2 separate regions of the Homo sapiens genome follow, and region 1 is linked to region 2. Evidence: promoter capture Hi-C in human tissues and cell types (Jung and others, 2019). All regions are on one chromosome and are shown on one strand. The core of a region is centred on a gene start or on the middle of the fragment in contact, and the rest is flanking DNA. Distances in the headings are between cores, read along the strand shown. Region 1 holds the start of MSI1 (musashi RNA binding protein 1). Region 2 holds the start of ACADS (acyl-CoA dehydrogenase short chain).

What was found. Contacts are between HindIII fragments. The study calls those that stand out against the background at their distance.
Region 1: the fragment with the promoter of MSI1 here is called in contact with the fragment with the promoter of ACADS in region 2 in 2 of the 25 tissues and cell types used here (IMR-90 fibroblasts and lymphoblastoid cells).

What each region holds. Positions count from the first base shown.
Region 1 is chr12:120,365,495-120,370,465 of GRCh38, reverse strand. It overlaps MSI1 (musashi RNA binding protein 1), which reads left to right and starts at 1,302. Exons shown (of 15, transcript NM_002442.4): 1 at 1,302-1,433; 2 at 1,593-1,633; 3 at 2,193-2,274; 4 at 2,374-2,458. The coding sequence starts at 1,375. RefSeq lists a silencer at 4,549-4,739. The HindIII fragment of the contact is 19,353 bases long and covers 1-4,971 here.
Region 2 is chr12:120,723,975-120,728,822 of GRCh38, reverse strand. ACADS (acyl-CoA dehydrogenase short chain) reads right to left here and starts at 2,997. Exons shown (of 10, transcript NM_000017.4): 1 at 2,892-2,997; 2 at 1,634-1,797. The coding sequence starts at 2,937. RefSeq lists a silencer at 2,678-3,187 and an enhancer at 2,824-3,325. The HindIII fragment of the contact is 31,377 bases long and covers 1-4,848 here.

The sequences.
Region 1 (4,971 bases), core at 53-2,552, 360 kb after region 2:
CCAGGCTGGAGGGAGGGAATTTTAGGGGTACGTAAGGTGACTCCAAGGAGCCTTGGGTGCAAGTACTGGGGGATCCCAGAGACCCAGAAGATGGGGGTAGAAAGGAAGGTGTTTGCCTTCACGGGGAGTAGCCTCAAAATAAGAGGGACTGAGGGAAGTCATTCCAAATGCAGTGGGTAGGTAGTTTAGGCTCTTCCAATGGGATGGGGTGGAGCTTAGACCTCTGCAAAAGAAGGGGGTCATTCGGAGGGGACGGTGCACAGCTGAGGCGTTGGGCTCCTAAACTGGAAACAGGAGGCTCTAAGAGGCACTGCCTTTTCCTCCAGCCTCGGTGTGGTGGGGGTGGTGAGTGTCTGGAACCGGGTTTCCCGAATCAGGACAGGAGTCTGAATGGATCTCACAAAAACCGGCCAGGGAGGGAGAGAACCAGGGGAGACTCCTCACACCGGGAGGTGGGGGTGGCGGCAAACTGAGAACCCGGGCTTGGGGCGCGGGATTTTCTCAACAGACCATAGGGTCCACTAATGTGGACGGCAGGGATTTGGGGAAACTAAGGGGGACTCTCACTTTGGACACCAAGGGCTGAGGACGGATTGGGGAAGAGGATACGGTTTCTACTGGGGTGCTGATGGAGGTTCCCCACTCGGGACGCGAGGCACTGAGTGGGTCCCCCAAACTGGATATGGGATCCTGGGAACGGAGCGAGGGCTCTAAATTAGAGCCCTGGGGTGGGGGTGGGGGGCTGTAAATTAGGTTGGGAGGAAACTGGGGGCTCTGAGGGCGGCTTCTCGCTCCGACTGGGGAAATGGAGCATGTGGGGACTGGGGAGCACTAGGGCTATCTCCCGCCCGACCCGAGGAGATTGGGGTTCTCTTCAATTCTGGACAGCAGGGACCTGAGAGGGAAGACCGGGGGGGTTCCCGATCCGGAACCGAGCTACCTTGAAGGCACCGGGAAGCGCTTCATTCCGGGAGGGCGTTCCCGCGGCCGGGCCCCCGCGCCGGGGTGGGTGGGGGGTGCGGCCGCGCCCTGGTCCCGGCCCGCACCGGGATTCGGGGGTCTCGCTCGGCCCCGGAGACCCAGGAGCCCCGCGGGAAGGGGGTCCCGGCGCCGCCGCCTCCGCGGGCGCCCGGGCTCGCGGGCGAGCGCGGGGCTTTATGCGCGCAGGGCGGCGGGGGGAGGAGCCGGCAGGTCGGCCCCCGGCGGGCCCTCCCCTCGGCCGTCCCCGCCCGCCCGCCCGAGCGGGGTCGGGGGAGGGGGCAGCATGGCCTGTCCGTCCGGCCCCCTTCGCCGCGCTCCTCATCTGCCCCGCGCCGAGCGCCGCCGCCGCCGCCGCCGCCGCCGCTCCGCTGCCCGCGCCGCCCGCGGCTCCCGATGGAGACTGACGCGCCCCAGCCCGGCCTCGCCTCCCCGGACTCGCCGCACGACCCCTGGTACGGCCCGGCCCGGCCTGCTTGGCCCGCGCCCGCCCCGGCCCCGCCAACATGGCCGATCCGGGTCCGGCCGGGCCTCCCCGGAGCCCGGGCCCGCGCCCCCTGCGCCCTGGCGCCCGGCGCTCACGCGGGCCCTTTGTGTCTCTCCTCCTCCCGCAGCAAGATGTTCATCGGGGGACTCAGTTGGCAGACTACGCAGGGTGAGCGAGCCCGGGAGCGCCCGCCGGTCCGGCAGGGCACCCCGGACCCCCCGGCGCCCCGGACCCGGACACCCCAGCCCGGCCCTGCGCCCTGCTGACCCCGGGCGCCCTCGCGCCCTCTTTCGCGCCCCGCCCGGAGACCCCGAGAGCGCAGGGCGATCCGCGAGCGCACCCGGCCCAGCGGGTGGAGGGGAGCAGATGAGGGGTTCAGGGGGTATCGGGGGGTGGGCTGGGCCCCCGGGACCCGCCGGCGGCAGCGCCAACTCCGCTCGCACCTGCGGCTCAAACTTTTGTGAGGCTGCTCCCGGAGCGGCGGGAACCCGGCCGGAGCCGTCCCCCTTCCAGCCCAGCTCGGCCCTCGGCTTCCCGGGGCCCCGGTGGGCGCCAGGAGGCTCAGCGGGAACGGGGCGAGGGCGGTGGGGGGCGGCGGCAGTGGAGAACGCGCGGGCAGCTTGGCGCGGGGGCGGCCGGGCCGCTCCGGGGTCACCGGGGGCAAAGGACGGGGGGGGGGGAAGGGCGCGGGGCCCGGGCTGGTCCGAAGGCGGGTGTGTGGTTACAGAAGGGCTGCGCGAATACTTCGGCCAGTTCGGGGAGGTGAAGGAGTGTCTGGTGATGCGGGACCCCCTGACCAAGAGATCCAGGTGAGCCCCTCACCCCCTCCTCCTGCTCCCGGCTCGCCCCCCTCCACCCGCCACTCACTGCCTTGTAACCATCTGCCTCTCCCTCACTACGGCGCGCAGGGGTTTCGGCTTCGTCACTTTCATGGACCAGGCGGGGGTGGATAAAGTGCTGGCGCAATCGCGGCACGAGCTCGACTCCAAAACAGTGAGTGGCCCTCGGGGCTTCGGGGGTCCTTTGGGAGAGGGAGGCTGCCGGAGGAGAGGGTCAGGACTCTCCCCAGGGGACAGCTGGACGGGGTCCATGAGGAAGGAGGGAGTTTTTCTGAGTAAGAGGGCTGCCATGCTCTGAAACTTTGTCACTAGAGTTGGGGGGGAGAGGGAGGAGAAAAATCCCTGGCCTGCCATGAGATGCTACATCCCCCCTCCCCTAGTCCTGGTGAGGGGAGAGGCAGCCGCCACCCTCTCCCTAGAAGTACTAATCATGATGCCTCAGAGCAGAGCTTGGGGTGGGGCTAGGTCCCTCCCCCAGCCCAAATTGGGTGAGTCAGGGTAGCACTGACCCACCCGGTGGCTTCTGTGAACTCTAACTAGTATTTGGCTCTGCGACACCCCCTCTTCATCCAGACCAATGGCAAAGCATCCCTTGAAGCCCCCTCCCTCTCTCCTTCCCTCCTCCCCCGACTTTTGGTCAATGAGCTCCTTGCTTTGTGTGGAAGACAGGGACCTGCTTTGCCCACGGAGGGGATTTATGAGAAAGGCTCTAGCTTGCCTGGAAACGACCCTTCGGAAGACTAGATCTTAGGAGAAGCTGCTTGGTTGGCATTCAAACTCATGGAACATTTTGCTGTTGTCCCACAGCTCCTTCGTGTCTTAGACCCTGCAGGGGGCGCTGGCTCCAGGGCAGATGGAAAAGTAGAAAAGTCAGAGGAGGGGGTTACTCCCATGTGATGGGGGTGTCTGTCTGCTGGGGGCAGGGATAGTGTGGATCTCTTCTCTCCATGCTTCCCTGCTGTCCCCCAGCCTTGGGCCTCTCTGCTTGGGTCAGTCCCTGGCTCCCGTTTACCTGCAACAATAGCTGCTTGTGCCCAAGAATTTGTCAAATTACCGCCTGTCCCCAGCTCCTGTTATCTCTGCCCAGTGGCTCCCGCTCCCGCTCGCAGTAATGAGCAAATGAGGCCAGGCCTCAACTTTGCCGGCTCTGAAAGGATCTTCTTGGCGCAGCCTGAGTGACCCAAGCCTGGAAATGGAGAGACAGTGGCCTATTGTTTTTGGTGATTATCTGCCATCAAGCTGCCTGTTCTGCTACCATCCCCTGTCCTCAGAATGCACTGATGGCTTCTGCAGTGCTGAGGAAGCTGAGATTTAGGGGCTGGGGGATGGAGGAGTGGAAGATTGATAAAGGGGAAGAGAATGAGGGAGGAAGGAGGGTGAGATGAGCATCCTTAGGAGATGGGGCTGAAAAGGGCCAGGGCTTTGTCTGTGTTTGGCGTCCTCCAGCCTGGGAAAGGGGGTGGGAGGGAGGTTTACTGTGGGGAGTCTATTTTGAGCTCTGACTTTCACCTTTTATTTACTTGTTGGGTTTTATTTATGTTGCCAGCTGTGAGTCACAGTGGAGGTGGGGTGTGTCAGGGATGGGGTGTGCGTGGGTCTGTGGGATCGTGGCTTGGGTACCATCTCCCCATCGGGGTCTGTGTAGGGGGACTGTGTGTGGTGCGCTGGTGGCTGGGGCGGCTGCTTCTGGGAGAAAGAGAAGGATGGACATGTCCGTGGAGGTGTGGAATTGAAACTTCAGGCGGGAGAAATGGGCAGTTGTGATTTTTCCCTGGAGCCCAGTGGGACTTGGCAGGAGAGGAGGCATTGCCCCAGTGTGGATTTTGGAGGTTCCATCTCTGTGGACAGATTCCAGTGGGGGAGCCTGTAGGAGGCTAGTTCCTGGTCTGTGCCATTCAGAGAGAAGCCAGAGCCAGCTGCCTAGAACGAGGCTGAGTTTTGAACAGAAGGAACTTTGGGAAAAGATAGATCTTCCCTGCGATTGGCTGGTGAACTTATGAATGACGTCCACCCATGTGGGTGGCAAAAAGCTCTGGCCTGACCTGGCCCTGTAGGCCCTGCATGGATCACAGCGTCTCATGCCCTGTCTTTTGCTGTTTGTCGTACAGCTATAGTACCCAGGAGTACACCCAGATGCATCTTGATTTTTCCCTCTGGTTGTTCACAGCCAAGGGCAAAGGTGGCCTGCTGGTAATAGCACCTTTGTTTGTGCAATGAAGGGCAGTTCACAAAGGGCCGCTTTCACCCGCGTTATCTCATCTGATTCCCCGCAGCTGCCCCTGGGAAAAGCGGGTGTGATTGTCCCCACTTTGCAGATGAAGGAACTGAGGCTCACAGAGTTCGAGTGCATTACCAAGATCACAGGCTTGGCAAGAGGCCCAGAGTTTCTAGGTCAAGTCCCATGCCCTTTCACGTCACCGAAGACTGCACTCTGCCTTGCCCCAAGCCTAGCTGCATTATCAAGGAGCTGTTTGCTCACAGCCTCAAGGAGAGCTATTTGATGTTGATAGTACTGCGAAAACAGAACTGAGCCTACTCCTGATGGTTATGAACTCTCAGCTTGTAGCCTTTTGCAGACAAAGAGTATTCCCATTTGCAGGGTTTCCAAAGCCTGAATTGCATACCTTACCTAGATAGGTCATCTGTGTGAAGTCAGTTACGCAAGGA
Region 2 (4,848 bases), core at 1,748-4,247:
TAAAACTCATTTTTAAGGCCGGGTGTGGTGGCTCACGCCTGTAATCCCAGCACTTTGCGAGGCCGAGGCGGGTGGATTGCCTGAGCTCAGGAGTTTGAGACCAGCCTGGGCAACACGGTGAAACCCCGTCTCTACTAAAATACATAAAATTAGCCGGGTATGGTGGTGTGCGCCTGTAATCCCAGCTACTCGGGAGGCTGAGGCAGGAAACAATTGTTTGAACTCAGAAGGCGGAGGTTGCAGTGAGCCGAGATCGCGCCACTGCACTCCAACCTGGTGACAGAGCAAGACTGTCTCAAAAAATTTTTAAAAATAAAAAATAAATTAAAATTAAAATTAAAAAAAAAAACAGGCAAGGAGAAGAGGCCGGAGAGGTTTGACTTTTCACAAATCATTAATTAAACAACTATCTACTACTGAGTGTTTACACCAGGTGCTGGACATCTTTAGGTCAGCGTGTACGGCAGTAACATCTTCAACGCGTAGCTGCAGACAGACTGAATGCAAATGGAAGAACACAGTGGCACGGGAGGGAGCGCGCTGATGGGAAACTCAGGGGAGAAAACAGTTCAAGCAGGCCGGGCACGGTGGCTCACGCCTGTAATCCCAGCACTTTGGGACGCCAAGGCGGGCAGATCGCCTAAGGTCAGGAGTTTGAGACCAGCCTGCCCAACATGGAGAAACCCCATCTCTACTGAAAGTACAAAAACTAGCTGGGCGTGGTGGTGCCCGCCTGTAATCCCAGCTACTGGGGGCCGAGGCAGGAGAATTGCTTGAACCCAGGAGGCAGAGGGGTGCAGTGCGTTGAGATTGCGCCACTGCCCTCCAGCCTGGGCAACAGAGCGAGAGTCCATTTCAAAAAAAAATAAGTAAATAAAAAAGAAAATAGGTCGAGCAGGCTGCCGCTGATGAGCTCCATGACCTTGGGTATGTTATTTAACTTGTTCACAAGTCTGAGTCCATGGGGTATATAATAATACTACCTTTGGCCGGGCGTGGTGTCTCACACCTGTAATCCCAGCACTTTGGGAGGCCGAGGTGGGCAGATCACCTGAATTCAGGAGTTTGAGACCAGCCTGGCCAACATGGTGAAACGCCGTCTTTACTAAAAATACAAAAGTAGCGGGGCAGAGCAGTGCACGCCTATAATCCCAGCTACTTGGGAGGCTGAGGCAGGAGAATCACTTGAACTCAGGAGGCAGAGGCTGCAGTGAGGCGAGGTCGCACCATTGCACTCCAGCCTGAGCCACAAGAGTGAAACTCCGTCTCAAAAAAATAAATAAGAATAGTACCTTCACCTCACAGGACCGTTGTGAGGAACAGATGAGATAACCCATCTCAAGAACAGTGCCTAGTGCATGCCAAACACCCTAAAGGCACTATTTAGAATGAGCACAGTGGCTGGCACAGTAAGCAACTGACCATCCACCACATATTACTGTTGTCCCAGAAGTTAAGTCCTGGCTACTGGCCACAGGCTGGACAAGGGAAACTTCCAGAGCATTTTCTGGGTTCCAGGCCCTGCTTTGGGGTTCCTCTACCAGAGTCCGAGTGCCGCTGACTGTCACTGCCACCATTCATCCAGTAGCAGAGGGCAGACCACTATCGTGGGCTGCTGAGGTTGCACTCTCACCTGAGCCGCTGGGAAGAGATGTTCCTTATCCACCTGGGCTGCAATGGGAAACAACTCCTTCTCGGCAAAGTCCCGGCATGTCTGGAGCAACATCTGGTGTGTCTCGGGCAGTTCCACAGACTGGTAGATGGTGTGTAACTGCCGCCAGGCCCTAGGACAGAGAGCTGCCGGCAAGGGCAGAAGTGAGTGGAAGGAGGAGGCAGGAGGTCTCCAAGAATCCTAGTGACCCACTAACTCACCAGGGAGGATTTTGCCCTCCAAGGGACATCTGGCAATGTCTGGAGCCAGTTCTAGTTGTCACAACTAGAGCAGGGGAATACTATTGGTACCCAGTGGATAGGGGTCCGGGATCCCTGCTGAACATCCAACAAGGCAGAGGACAGCCCCCACAACAAAGAACTGTCAGCCCAAAATGTCCATGGCGGCCACTGAAAACCCCATACTAACTGAATGCTTAGTACACTCACTAGACATTTCCATACACTACATCCTTCAGTCCTCAGTATAATACCAACAGTAATAAGACCTCAGCTCTGTGACCTTAGGCAAGGGTTTTAAACGTCAGTGAGCCTCCGTTTCTATAACAAGTGGAGGCGAATAGTATTCCGCTCCTCGGAGTGCGAAAGAAAGACTAACTAGCGCTTAACACAGTTCTCAGTAGCGTTCCCCTTGTAATTCAGGCCAGGCAAAGGAAGCCGTGGCTATATGTGTCACGGCTGCTACAACTGGAGACACGTAAGATGGGAAAGGTACTGTATTAACCAGCAAGAACGAGCATTTGTGGAACACCTGTTACACGCCAGGCACGAAGTGCTTTACATACCCTATGATTTAATCCTCCCAACAACTCTGATTTTCTCTGTGGACATTTTACACATGGGCCAACCGAGGCTGAGGAGGGGCTGTCTTGCCCAAGGTCACAGATGCGGGTCTGGTTCAATCCCAGGCCTGGCTCCGGAAGAAGGACGCACCCTGAACCTCTAGTGGGGGTGAAATGAAGGGAGGGAGATATGGGAACTGGGAACTGGGCTGGTGGCTGGGGTCAATCGGGGGGTAGGGGTCTGTGCAGGAACCAGGGACGCCTGAAGGGCCGGGCTGGGTCGGCGCAAGGAGCAGCAGAACTGGGGCAAAGGCCGTGAGCGCTCCCGGAGTGGGGCTCCGCCTGCCAGCGGCTCTGACAGAGCCGGCCGCCAGGACCTCCGCCCGCTGGGCCAGACGCGGGCTGAAGCCCCGCCGTACGGATCCCCAGCGCACTCACCTCTGCGGGCAGGGCCCGAGGCCCGGGCGAGCAGCGCGGCGGCCATGGGCGACAGACACAGTCCCAGGCTTCGCGACCTCCCGCTGCGAGCGCGCTGTTCCGGAGTGCTGGGGGGCGGGACCCGGGACAGAGGCCACGCCCGTAGGGCCTCGGGAGCGGGGCCGAGGTGCGCTCGCGGCCAGGGGGCGGGGCCTCCAGTGGTCCCTCCCAAGGCGAGGAACCGACGCTCGACTGCGCGCGCGGTCGGTCAGCTGGCTGTTCGTGCCCACATTCGTTAATCAAAATGCTAACAAGAGAAAGCTAAGGATAGAGCTTCGCAGAAAGGCCAGAGAGGTCTTTTTAAAGCATAAATAAGATAGCGATCTTCGGGTTAAAACTTTGTTGGCTTTGTCGGCGGGCCCATCCCTCCTAAAATCCAATTCTATGGCTTAAAAAGCCAAGACCTGCCTTGTCTATCAGGGCCCATGCCCACCGTTCCCTGGTTATTGTTGCTTAGCTTTACGAGGCAGCTCTTCTCTAAGACCCTTAGCTGGTTCCTGACTCGGGGCCTCTGTGATCACTGTTCCTTTTGTCTGGAATGCCCCCTCTTCGTTTAGGTCTCATGGATGCCTGCCCTGACCACACCAAGCCGTTTCTCCCCCTCTGGCTCTCTATCTTTCGTTCTGTTTATTCAAGGCACTTTGCATCTGAAATTATCTGCTTCCCCGACTCGCTCCGAGAAGCTCAAGGACCTGTCTTGTGTTGGTGCTCAATATTTAGGCCCCTGGAGTTGGGCTGCAAGGAAAGCTTTCTTTTCCCCAGAGGCTGTGAAGGTGGGTGGAGATGCTACCCCCGTTCCACTTCAGTACTGTGTCTCATTCCCGATTGGGGCAGAACCCAGACACATATTTGACCCCTAGCATCCTCATCAGGACACCTTTGCCCCGCCCAAGAAACTATGCTGATTTTACTTGTCCCATAAGGGTCTTCTCTTGTGCAAGTGTGATTCTGATTCCCATAGCCTCCTGGGCACCACCCACGCCCTCCCAGGCACCCACACATCCCTCCAACTGCCTTTCTTTCCCAGCACTCAGCCAGGCAGGCATCTGTTCCCAGCATTGACCTATTTGCCAAAACTTCTGTCTCTTCCTCTTGGAGGAAAGTGGAAACCTCGGTCACTACTTCCTAGAAGAAAGCCAATCAAAAGATGCAGCAAAGTCCTTAATGTGTTACCTTTCTTTTTAAATAATGCATTTAAAAGAACGCCTCTAAATTCTCAGTACTTTAAAGTCAAATGAATGGCTCCCATTGGCAAATGCTCTAAGGGCTTCCTCACCTTTCCGTCATCCCACCTGGGAACCAGCCCTGGGTGGAAGAAACGATGAAGAAGCAGGAGAAAAGGGAGAAATAAGTGAGTTGTGTTTGTGAGCAAAGGCCAATAATTGCTTCAGGTGCCACAGAGCATCTAAACCAGACTCTTGAGAATTTGTGACTGTAAATATGAACGTTCAAATTTCATTTTAAAAGTATCCAAGTTTTCCAATAGAGACAGAATCAGATAGTGGTTGCAAGAGGCGAAGTGGGGGAAGTCACCTGGCTGCAAACACAAGGAACTCAGGAACTTTCTGAGTGGGTACGATGGAAATGTCCTATATCATGATTGTGATGGGTAATAAAAGTATTCATTTGTCAAAATGCATCAATACTCTTAATTGAGGTAAATTTTACTGTAGTTAAAGTATTTCTTAATAAGCCTACCTTTATGGCCAGCCACAGTGGCTCACACCTGTAATCCCAGAACTTTGGGAGGCCAAGGCGGGTTGATCACCTGAGGTCAGGAGTTCAAGACCAGCCTGGCCAACATGGGGAAACCCTGTCTCTACCAAAAATACAGAATTAGCCGGGCGTGGTGGCATGCACTTGTAATCCCAGCTACTTGGGAGGCTGAGGCAGGACAATCACTTGAACCCGGGAGGCG